2 separate regions of the Homo sapiens genome follow, and region 1 is linked to region 2. Evidence: promoter capture Hi-C in human tissues and cell types (Jung and others, 2019). All regions are on one chromosome and are shown on one strand. The core of a region is centred on a gene start or on the middle of the fragment in contact, and the rest is flanking DNA. Distances in the headings are between cores, read along the strand shown. Region 1 has its middle 20 kb from the start of HILPDA. Region 2 holds the start of PRRT4 (proline rich transmembrane protein 4).

Region 1 (4,092 bases), core at 1,354-3,853, 74 kb after region 2:
TGGGTTTAGGTGTGTTCCTTTTCGGAATCTGTGCCTCAGTCTGTGGCAAACAATTTTTAGGTGTCTCATTCAACAAGTTCTGGTGGTATTTCGCCATTTAGCCTTGGCACCCAGTTATATTTCCTCTTGTGTTTGGCAGGGTAGCCACATTTGCCACAGGTCGTCTTCTGGAGGTGGTGGGCCTTAGAGCCACAGTGGTGGCACAATGTGTGTGTCTTACTGTGATGCTTTCCAAACGATGAGATTCCCTTCATCATCTCACTTCTGCAGCTGAGACCAAACAGACTGGAAGATAAGGCACTTCCACTACATCTGGTCAGCAAATATTTATTGAACACTTACTATGCGTCAGACACCATGTTCCTCATGGCTTCCCCTAAAGCTCCATGTAGGAAAATTAAGCATGAGGGTAACTGATTGAAGGGTCTCAGAAAAACAAACCTTTGTGGCTAACATCCCTCCTCCTGGCCACCTGCAAGATTTAGCACTGATTACCCATCTTCAAACCCCTTGTATTAATCTGTTCTCACACCACTATAAAGAACAGCTGGAGACTGGGTAATTTATAAAGAGGTTTAATTGACTCACAGTTCCTCATGGCTGTGGAGGCCTCAGGAAACTTACAATCATGGTGGAAGGGGAAGCAAACACATCCTTCTTCACCTGGTGGCAGCAAGAAGTGTGGGAGAAGCCCCTAAGAAAACCATCAGTTCTCATGAGAACTCACTCACTATTTTGAGAACAGCAGCATGGGGGTAACTGCCCCATGATTCAATTACCTCCCACCAGGTCCCTCTGAGGACACATGGGGATTATGGGAACTACAATTCAAGATGAGATTTGGGTGGGGACACAGCCAACCCATATAATCCCTCTTAAAAATAATGCATTCTATCTAGGCTGCTGTAGCGGTTCACACCTGTAATCCCAGTGCTTTGGGAGGCTGAGGTGGAAGGAACACTTGAGGCTAGGAGTTTGAGACCAGCCTGTGCAACCAAGCAAGACCCTGTCTCTACAAACAAAAAAATTTAATTAGCTGGGCACAGTGGTACGTACCTGTAGTTCCAGCTACTGGGAGTGGGGCAGGGTGCTGACTCAGGAGGATCACTTGAGCCCAGGAGGTTGAAGGTGCAAGCTATGATTGCACCACTGCACTCCAGCCTGGGCAACAGAGAGATACCCTGTCTCTAAAAGTAAGTAAGTAAATACATAAAATAAATAAATAAAGCTGGGTGTGGTGACTCACACATTTAATCCCAACACTTTGGGAGGCCAAGGCAAGAGGATCACTTGAACTTGGAAGTTCAAGACCAGACTGGGTAACACTGAGACCCTGTCTCTATAAATAAAAAAATAAAAAAATTAAAATTAAAAAATACAACTAGTGCATTCTGATTGGGTCAAGGTTCTAATTTACCCAGAGAGGTCATACATCAATTATCTAATAGCATAGGAATTCCATTATCTGATTAACTCATCTTCTGTCTACAGCCATACCACCCTGAATGCCTGATCTTGTCTGATTAACTCATCTTCTGGAGCACATGGATCCATAATGGGCTCCAGTGGGGCTGAGAACACTAGAAATTATCTGCGTTTGTATCTGTACTATTTCCCCCTGGATTCAATTTCAGGCAGTATAGGAACTAGATAATCAGACAGTATTCCCACCTAAAGCATGACAAACATTCCTTTAAATGCATAGCAGAGCTTGAGGGTGGAGGAGGAAGGGAAAGCTACAGGGACAACAAACAAACAAACAAAGCAAAGAAATGAGAACCCTGAAGCTGTGGCTGGATTTGGGTGGGCGGGGACGGGGAGGGGGCTGTTCAGTAATGTTAATAACCAAAGCCTGGCATAAAGCTGGGGCCCATCAACAAAAGGGGGAGAAAGGGAAAATGTATCTGCTTCAGCCATAATTCTGGACCTGAAAAAACATTTCCACTGAGAATTTGCAATCCTGGGCTTCAGGCGTATTTGCAAACAGAATGCATACTGTGCCTGGTATGGGCAAACACAAGATCAAACATGAACAAACATTAGCGGTGGATTGTTAGTTCCTTGAAGAAGCTTTGCGCAAAGCTTCTCTGGAGGAGCTGCAGTTAACCCAGGCTATGTATGATTCCCACACAAAAAGTTTGGACAAGTAAAGCTCAAATGCAAAAAATAAATCACACAGAAACAAGCCTACATGAGCAAATGCCAGCATACCCAAGAAACAGCTGCATAATATCCTTTCCATTTTCCTATAACAGAATTATTAGGTATGAAGTAAAAAATAAGAATTTAAAAAATGTTTACAGAAAAATAAAAATAAACTGAAAACATGACAAAGGAGCCATATGCTATCAAAACAGATGAGATTTGAAAAAAATAAATCAATAGAACATCTAAAACTGAAAGCCACGATAATCAAAATTAAAAACTCAATGGGCAAGTTAAACAACAGATTAGATAGGACAGAAGACAGAATTAGTGAATTAAAAAAAATACAGAAACAAAAATAGGCCAAACCCCCTCCCCTACAAGATATAAAAAGTTATATAGAATGAAGCAGAGAGGGCCAAAAACTTGGAAAATATGAAGGAAATATTAAGAGACATGAAGACCAGACTGAGTAAGATGAACATGCATCCAATTGAAGTACTGTAAGAAGAAAACAGAATAGAGAGAGGCAATATTCTAAGAGATAGTGGCTGGAATTGTCCAGAAGCAATGAATGACATAAAACCCTCACCTTCTATCATCAAGGAAGCTAGATGACAAAGGAATATTTTTAAATGTATAACAGTAAATAACAAGTCGGGCATGGGAGCTCACACCTGTAATCCCAGCACTTTGGGAGGCTGAAGCAGGCAGCTTGTTTGAGCCCAGGAGTTTGAGACCAGCCTAGGCAACATGGTGAAACCCCTTGTCTACCAAAAAAAAAAAAAAAAATTAGCCAGGCATGGTGGAGCATGCCTGTAGTCCCAGCTACCTGGCAGGCTGAGGTGGGAGGATTGCTTGAGCCTGGGAGGCAGAGGTTGCAGTGAGCTGAGATCACATAACTACAATTCAGCCTGGTTAACAGAGCAAAAACCCTGTCTCAAAAAAAAAAAAAAGTAAATAACTAGCAAACTAGAATTTTATACTTAATCAAGATAACATTTAAAAGAAAGAGGACCTATGGAATGGGAGAAGTATTTGCAAATCATGTATCTGATAAGAGACTTGTATCCAGAAGTTCTTTATATAAAGAACTTCTACAACTCAAAAATAAAAAGTCATATAACCTGATTTGAAAATAGGCACAGGATTTTTTTTTTTTTTTTTTGAGATGGAGTTTCGCTCTTGTTGCCCAGGATGGAGTGCAATGGCACAATCTCGGCTCACTGCAACCTCCGCCTCCCAGGTTCAAGCAGTTCTCCTGCCTCAGCCTCCCTTGTAGCTGGGATTACAGGCGCCCACCACCACGCCCAGCTAAATTTTTTGTATATTTAGTAGAGACGGGGTTTCACTATGTTGGCCAGGGTGGTCTCGAACTCCTGACCTCTGGCGATCCACTCACCTCAGCCTCCCAAAGTGCTGGGATTACAGGCGTGAGCCATCGTGCCCAGCCACTTTTTTTTTTTTTTTTTAAGACAGAGTCTTGCTCATCACCCAGGCTGGAGTGCAGTGGGGTGATCTCGGCTCACTGCAGCTTCTGTCTCCCGGGTTCAAGCAATTCTCCTGCCTCAGCCTCCCAAGTAGCTGGGATTACAGGTGCCTGCGACCATGCCCGGCTACAACTGGGTGAAGAATTTGAATAAACATTTCTCCAAAGGAGGCTTACAAATAGCCAATATGCAGATAAAAAGATGTTCAACATCATTAGTCATTAGGGAAATACAAATGAAATCCACAATGAGATACTACTTAACAACCACCAGGCTGGCTAAAATTTAAAAAAGTAAAGACAATAACAAGTGTTGACAGGATGTGGGGAAACTGGAACCTTTATATATTGCTGGTAGAATTACAGAATGATGCAGCCACTCTGGAAAACAGTTTGGCAATTCCTCAAAATATTAAACACAGAGATACCACATAACCCAGCAGTTCTACTCCTAGTTG
Region 2 (4,506 bases), core at 598-3,097:
AGAGACAGCATAGAGGCCTCACTTTGAGGTACGGGGGTCAAAGTGGTGGCAGGGGCACCTGGGATGGAGGGGGTGGGCTGGGGGCCCACAGTAGCAGCAAACAGGACGCAGCAGAACAGTCCCAGCCCTAGACAGCCATGCCTGGCCATGGCCCCACCTGGCTTCGGGTGGCCTTGGTGGGCAGGGACTCAGTTGTTCAGCAGCTTTTGAGGAGGAAGGTCCTGGAGAGAGGAGAGGCCCTGTGAGCCCTGGCTGTGGCCCCCCTCTTCCCTTTCCCAGGATCGGATGTCCCAGAGAGAGGCTTCTGATCTCAGAGAAGCAGGTAGTGTGGGCAGGATGCAAAGTGTCCTGTCCATGGCTCTGGCTCTTCTTGCCGGGCCCTTCCTGTACCTTCAGGCCCCAGCACAAATCCCTGCCTGGGGGTTCCTCCTTCCCCCTCTGCTCATGCAGAAGCTGGGGTCTGACTGCAACCAGGGGCCCTCATCCTTAACTAGTAGCAAAAGGGATGGACTTGGGCTTCCAGACATGGATTCCTCTCTTCCTTCCCTCTGCTGAGCCTCAAGTCTTTACGCAGGCTTACCGTTTGCCAAGCACCCTTCTGGGCATATAACTGTGAACAAGCAAGCCCTTCCGATGTCTTGACCTATTCCAACCCCCACCTCCCGCCCCAGCCAGAAGTGCTGGCGCCCTCACTCTCAGACCCCAGGGGGCACAGGGCCTCGGGAGGGGTAAAGCCAGAGCTGAGTGATCTGGCCCAGTCAGAAGGCCGCCCAGGCTCTGGCCAGAGAAGCAAGGTTCCCAATCTGGCAGAAGCACCCTCCCTCCCGCCCCTCCCGTTTCCTGGGGCTGGGCCTGTTCCCTTCCCTAGGACCCTTGAAGTATTCGGGGGAGGGGCAGCTTGGCGATCTCCGGCTTCCTGGAGGAGAACGCCAGGCAGGCAAGCTGGGCGAACTGCAGGCAGCTGCGGCGGACTCCTACCCCCTCCCCAGAACTCTCTCCTCTGTGCGCACACATCTGGTGGGGGAAGGGAGGGTGAGCCAGGGACACACATGCACCCGGCACCCTTACATCACACACATAGCCACATCTAGCGCCCGTGACACACTCACCCGTCACATACCCCCCTGCCCCTGCACGCGCGCGCGCACACACACACACACACTCCGTCCTGCCGAGCCACTCTCCTCCCTGCATGGGTTCAAACCCAAGCTCTGTGAGCCCCCGGCCTCCCCTGTCTCTCTCTCTCTCTCTCTCTCTCTCTCACACACACACACACACACACACACACACACACACACGGCATGTACTGTACAGAGATGCACACCCCCTACACACATTCACACACACAGACATGCCACACACCGCCATCCCCCCACACTCGTACACGCCCACCACCCCTCGCAGGCACACATGCACACACGCGCGCGCACACGCACACACACCCCCAGCCCGGACCGGCCGACCTGCTCCCCGGGGTCTCTCCCGCAGGCAGGTCTCCTCGCCGAGCCTCCGAAAAGGGGCGGTCGTGGCGGCCCTGGCGCCCAGCTGGGCAACGCTTCGTGGTATCTCACCGCTTCTCTCTGTTGTGCCCAGCGCCCCGACTGAAGATCCGGACCTCCAGCCCCCGGCGGCCCCTCGCCTAGTCCAGAGACCGCAGCCTCGCCGCCCCGCTGCCCCTGAGCCGCCCCCGGCCCAGCCCCGGCCCGCAGCGCTCTCACCAGGCGGGCGGCCAGGCCCCGCGCTCCGCACTCCGCACTCCGCGCTCCCTCCCAGCGGCGCCGCCTCCTGGCTCCGAGCCTCGCTCCCCGGCGAAGCCGCCCGCGCCGGGGCTCCGCGGCAGCCGGCTCTGACGGCCCTCCCGTCCGCCCGCCCTCGCTCCCGCGCCCTCTCTCCTCCTCCTCCTCCTCCTCCTCCCACCCAGCCCGCCACCCGCGGTCCCCCCACACCCGGGCGGGCAGGCAGGCGCTCACAGCAGCGCGGAGCCGCGGCCACCTCGGTGCCGGGCGCCTCCACGCGCGCTCATTCACCCAGCGCTGTCAATCAGCCGCGGCGGGCGCCTCGCTGTGAGCCTGGCGAGAGCAATCACACACTCCCAGGGCGGCCCAGCACACACATCCACACGCGCGCCAGGAAACACACTCGCAGGTCAGAGGGCGCGCGCACACACGCGCACACATGGCAGCCTGCCCCAGGATGGCACCCCGGGCAATAAGAGTCCCACCGTTTGCTAAGTAGAAGTACAATGGACAATTCTACTTCCTTTATCTCATGAGTCCTCACCGCAACCCTGTGTATGTCGCCACTTTGCAGACAATTAAATGAAGACACAGAAAATTACCGAATTTGCCCAAGATTGCACAGCTTGGTAGAAACTCGAACCGTCTCCCTGCCGGCCCTCTCCACCACCTGGTGGTTTTCAACAGTTGCACTGCTACACAGCAGTGCCTCCAACACTTCACCGGTGAACTGCCAAATGCCAATCCCTGTGTGACATGTCTTTTCGCTAAAACTGATCTCTCAAAAATACTGTTTCAGAAATGTCTGCCAGAAAGAATGGTGAGCTAAGCTGCTTGTGAGAAGTGGATTACAACTGGTTTCTAGTAAGAGGTGTGAGGAGAACAGTAAAATCAAAGGCTGGGTTCAGTGGTTCACGCCTGTAATTCTAACACTTTGGGAGGCTGAGGCAGGCTGATCGCTTGAGCCCCGGGGTTCAAGAACAGCCTGGGCAACATAGCAAAAGATAAAATAAAAACAAACAAACAGCAAGCAAGCAAGCAAGCAAGCAAGAAAAAAAGAAGAAAGAAAGAAATTATCTGGGCGTGATGGGGTATGGTGGCAGACACCTGTAGTCCCAGCTATTTGGGAGGCTGAGACTGGAGGATTGCTTGAGCCTGGGAGGTGGAGGTTGCCGTGAGCTGTGATCATACCGCTACACTCCAGCCTGGGCAACAGAGCAAGACCCTGTCTCAAAAGGAAAAACAAAGAAAAAAGAGCGTGCCCCTTCACAGAAAGTAAGAGAGCTCAGGCAAAAGCTGACACAGGTTGAAGATGACCAAGAAAACCGAGCAGTCACTATGTATACTTCATGGAACCTGTTAAGTTGTAGTAGTGACTAACTGAAGTACTACTGACTCATTCATGTGGTTTTGAGTCTCTAAATCCCTTCATGTTTTCTTCAAACAATGATAGTAATTTAAAAGTATCAGAACATGAAACACTTCTGTCTCCCTGCACCATTTAAAACTTTCCCTCAAAATCTAAACATCCAACTGTGTGCCAAGAATGATGGTGGATGCTTTATAAGAGTCTCCTTACTTATTCGTCACCACGAGCCACAGAGACAGAAAAATTATTGTCACCATGTTATAGCCTTTTATATGACCCTGAATTCCCTTTCCATCTATATCCCTTCTCTTCTTCTCTTGAAGGTTGTGGCAGTTGCAGGGTGTGGGGCGGCGGGGGGCGGGTGCTGGTGTTGCTTAAAGAGTTACCTAGGGCAGATTCTGTCTCAGTAATTGAGAGCTAGCTTAGCACTTTGTGGATATGGTCCATGCCTATTTGATAAGTGAATAATGATGAATGGTTCTGGGGTCCATATGGGCAATGGGTTGCTTTTCAGAAAGGCATCTTCCTTATCACAGAGCCCCGCCAATTCATGTAAAATCAAATCAGGCCACCAACTGAACTACTCTCAGGGCCATCAACGATAAAGTCTGGGATTTATTCCAGGTCCCTTAACAAAGCATTGCAAAGGACATCTCCAGATGCACCCCCAGGGGTTATCATAACCTGCCCCCACCCCCAAGTCCATTAGGGGCTGCCCGGAGGCTGCAAACTGGGATTCAGCCTCTAATTTTCTCTCATATGCTTAATAAAAGTTATCCTACTGGAGACATTTTCTTTGAATCCTCCTCATAGAAAAGCCCATTTCCTGCTAATCATGTTCACTTAAAGACTTCTAAGTGGAAAGACAGAAATAAACATATCCCAGTACATTAAGATAGCAATCCTCCATGACCCAGTGGGCTTATTCCCAGGAATAATTTTTAAAATATATTGAAAAAGGAAGTAAGGGTTCTGGGTTAAGATGGTAATTGAATGTATATTCAATTACCTCCCAAAACCCCACTAAAACTCCAGTAAAGAGATTTTCAAATCAAGAGATAAACCTACAAGGATGCAAAGACCAGGAAAGGAGACAATAGCAATAGTATTTTTGAGACAGGATGGCAGGCAGTCATGGGGTTACTGACTTACCAGCCCCGAGGAAAAAAACATCCCAAACTGGCAGTGGGGAAAACCAAGAGCCAACTTGATTTACATTGCAAGGCTCTCAGAAGGCACAGAAACTGGCATTCCAAGGTATCTCCAGAACTACGGGAAAGGTTGCTAAAGTAGGGACTGAGCTGAAATACAGTTAGGTCCCTAGACCTCTTCCCTAACTCCAAACCACTGGGCAACAGTCTTTCTCATATCGCAAGAGTCTGGAGGATTTTCCTCTGAGGA

The links. Contacts are between HindIII fragments. The study calls those that stand out against the background at their distance.
Region 1: a contact is called between a fragment that was not itself captured here and the fragment with the promoter of PRRT4 in region 2, in 7 of the 25 tissues and cell types used here (IMR-90 fibroblasts, adrenal gland, aorta and 4 more).

What each region holds. Positions count from the first base shown.
Region 1 is chr7:128,433,457-128,437,548 of GRCh38, forward strand. It overlaps the pseudogene RPL37P16. Among named protein-coding and RNA genes, the nearest start is that of HILPDA, 20 kb to the right of the region's middle. The HindIII fragment of the contact is 6,008 bases long and covers 1-4,092 here.
Region 2 is chr7:128,359,843-128,364,348 of GRCh38, forward strand. PRRT4 (proline rich transmembrane protein 4) reads right to left here and starts at 1,848. Exons shown (of 6, transcript NM_001174164.2): 1 at 1,719-1,848; 2 at 1,464-1,580; 3 at 1-221. The coding sequence starts at 149. RefSeq lists enhancers at 1-45, 46-914, 915-1,783. The HindIII fragment of the contact is 21,921 bases long and covers 1-4,506 here.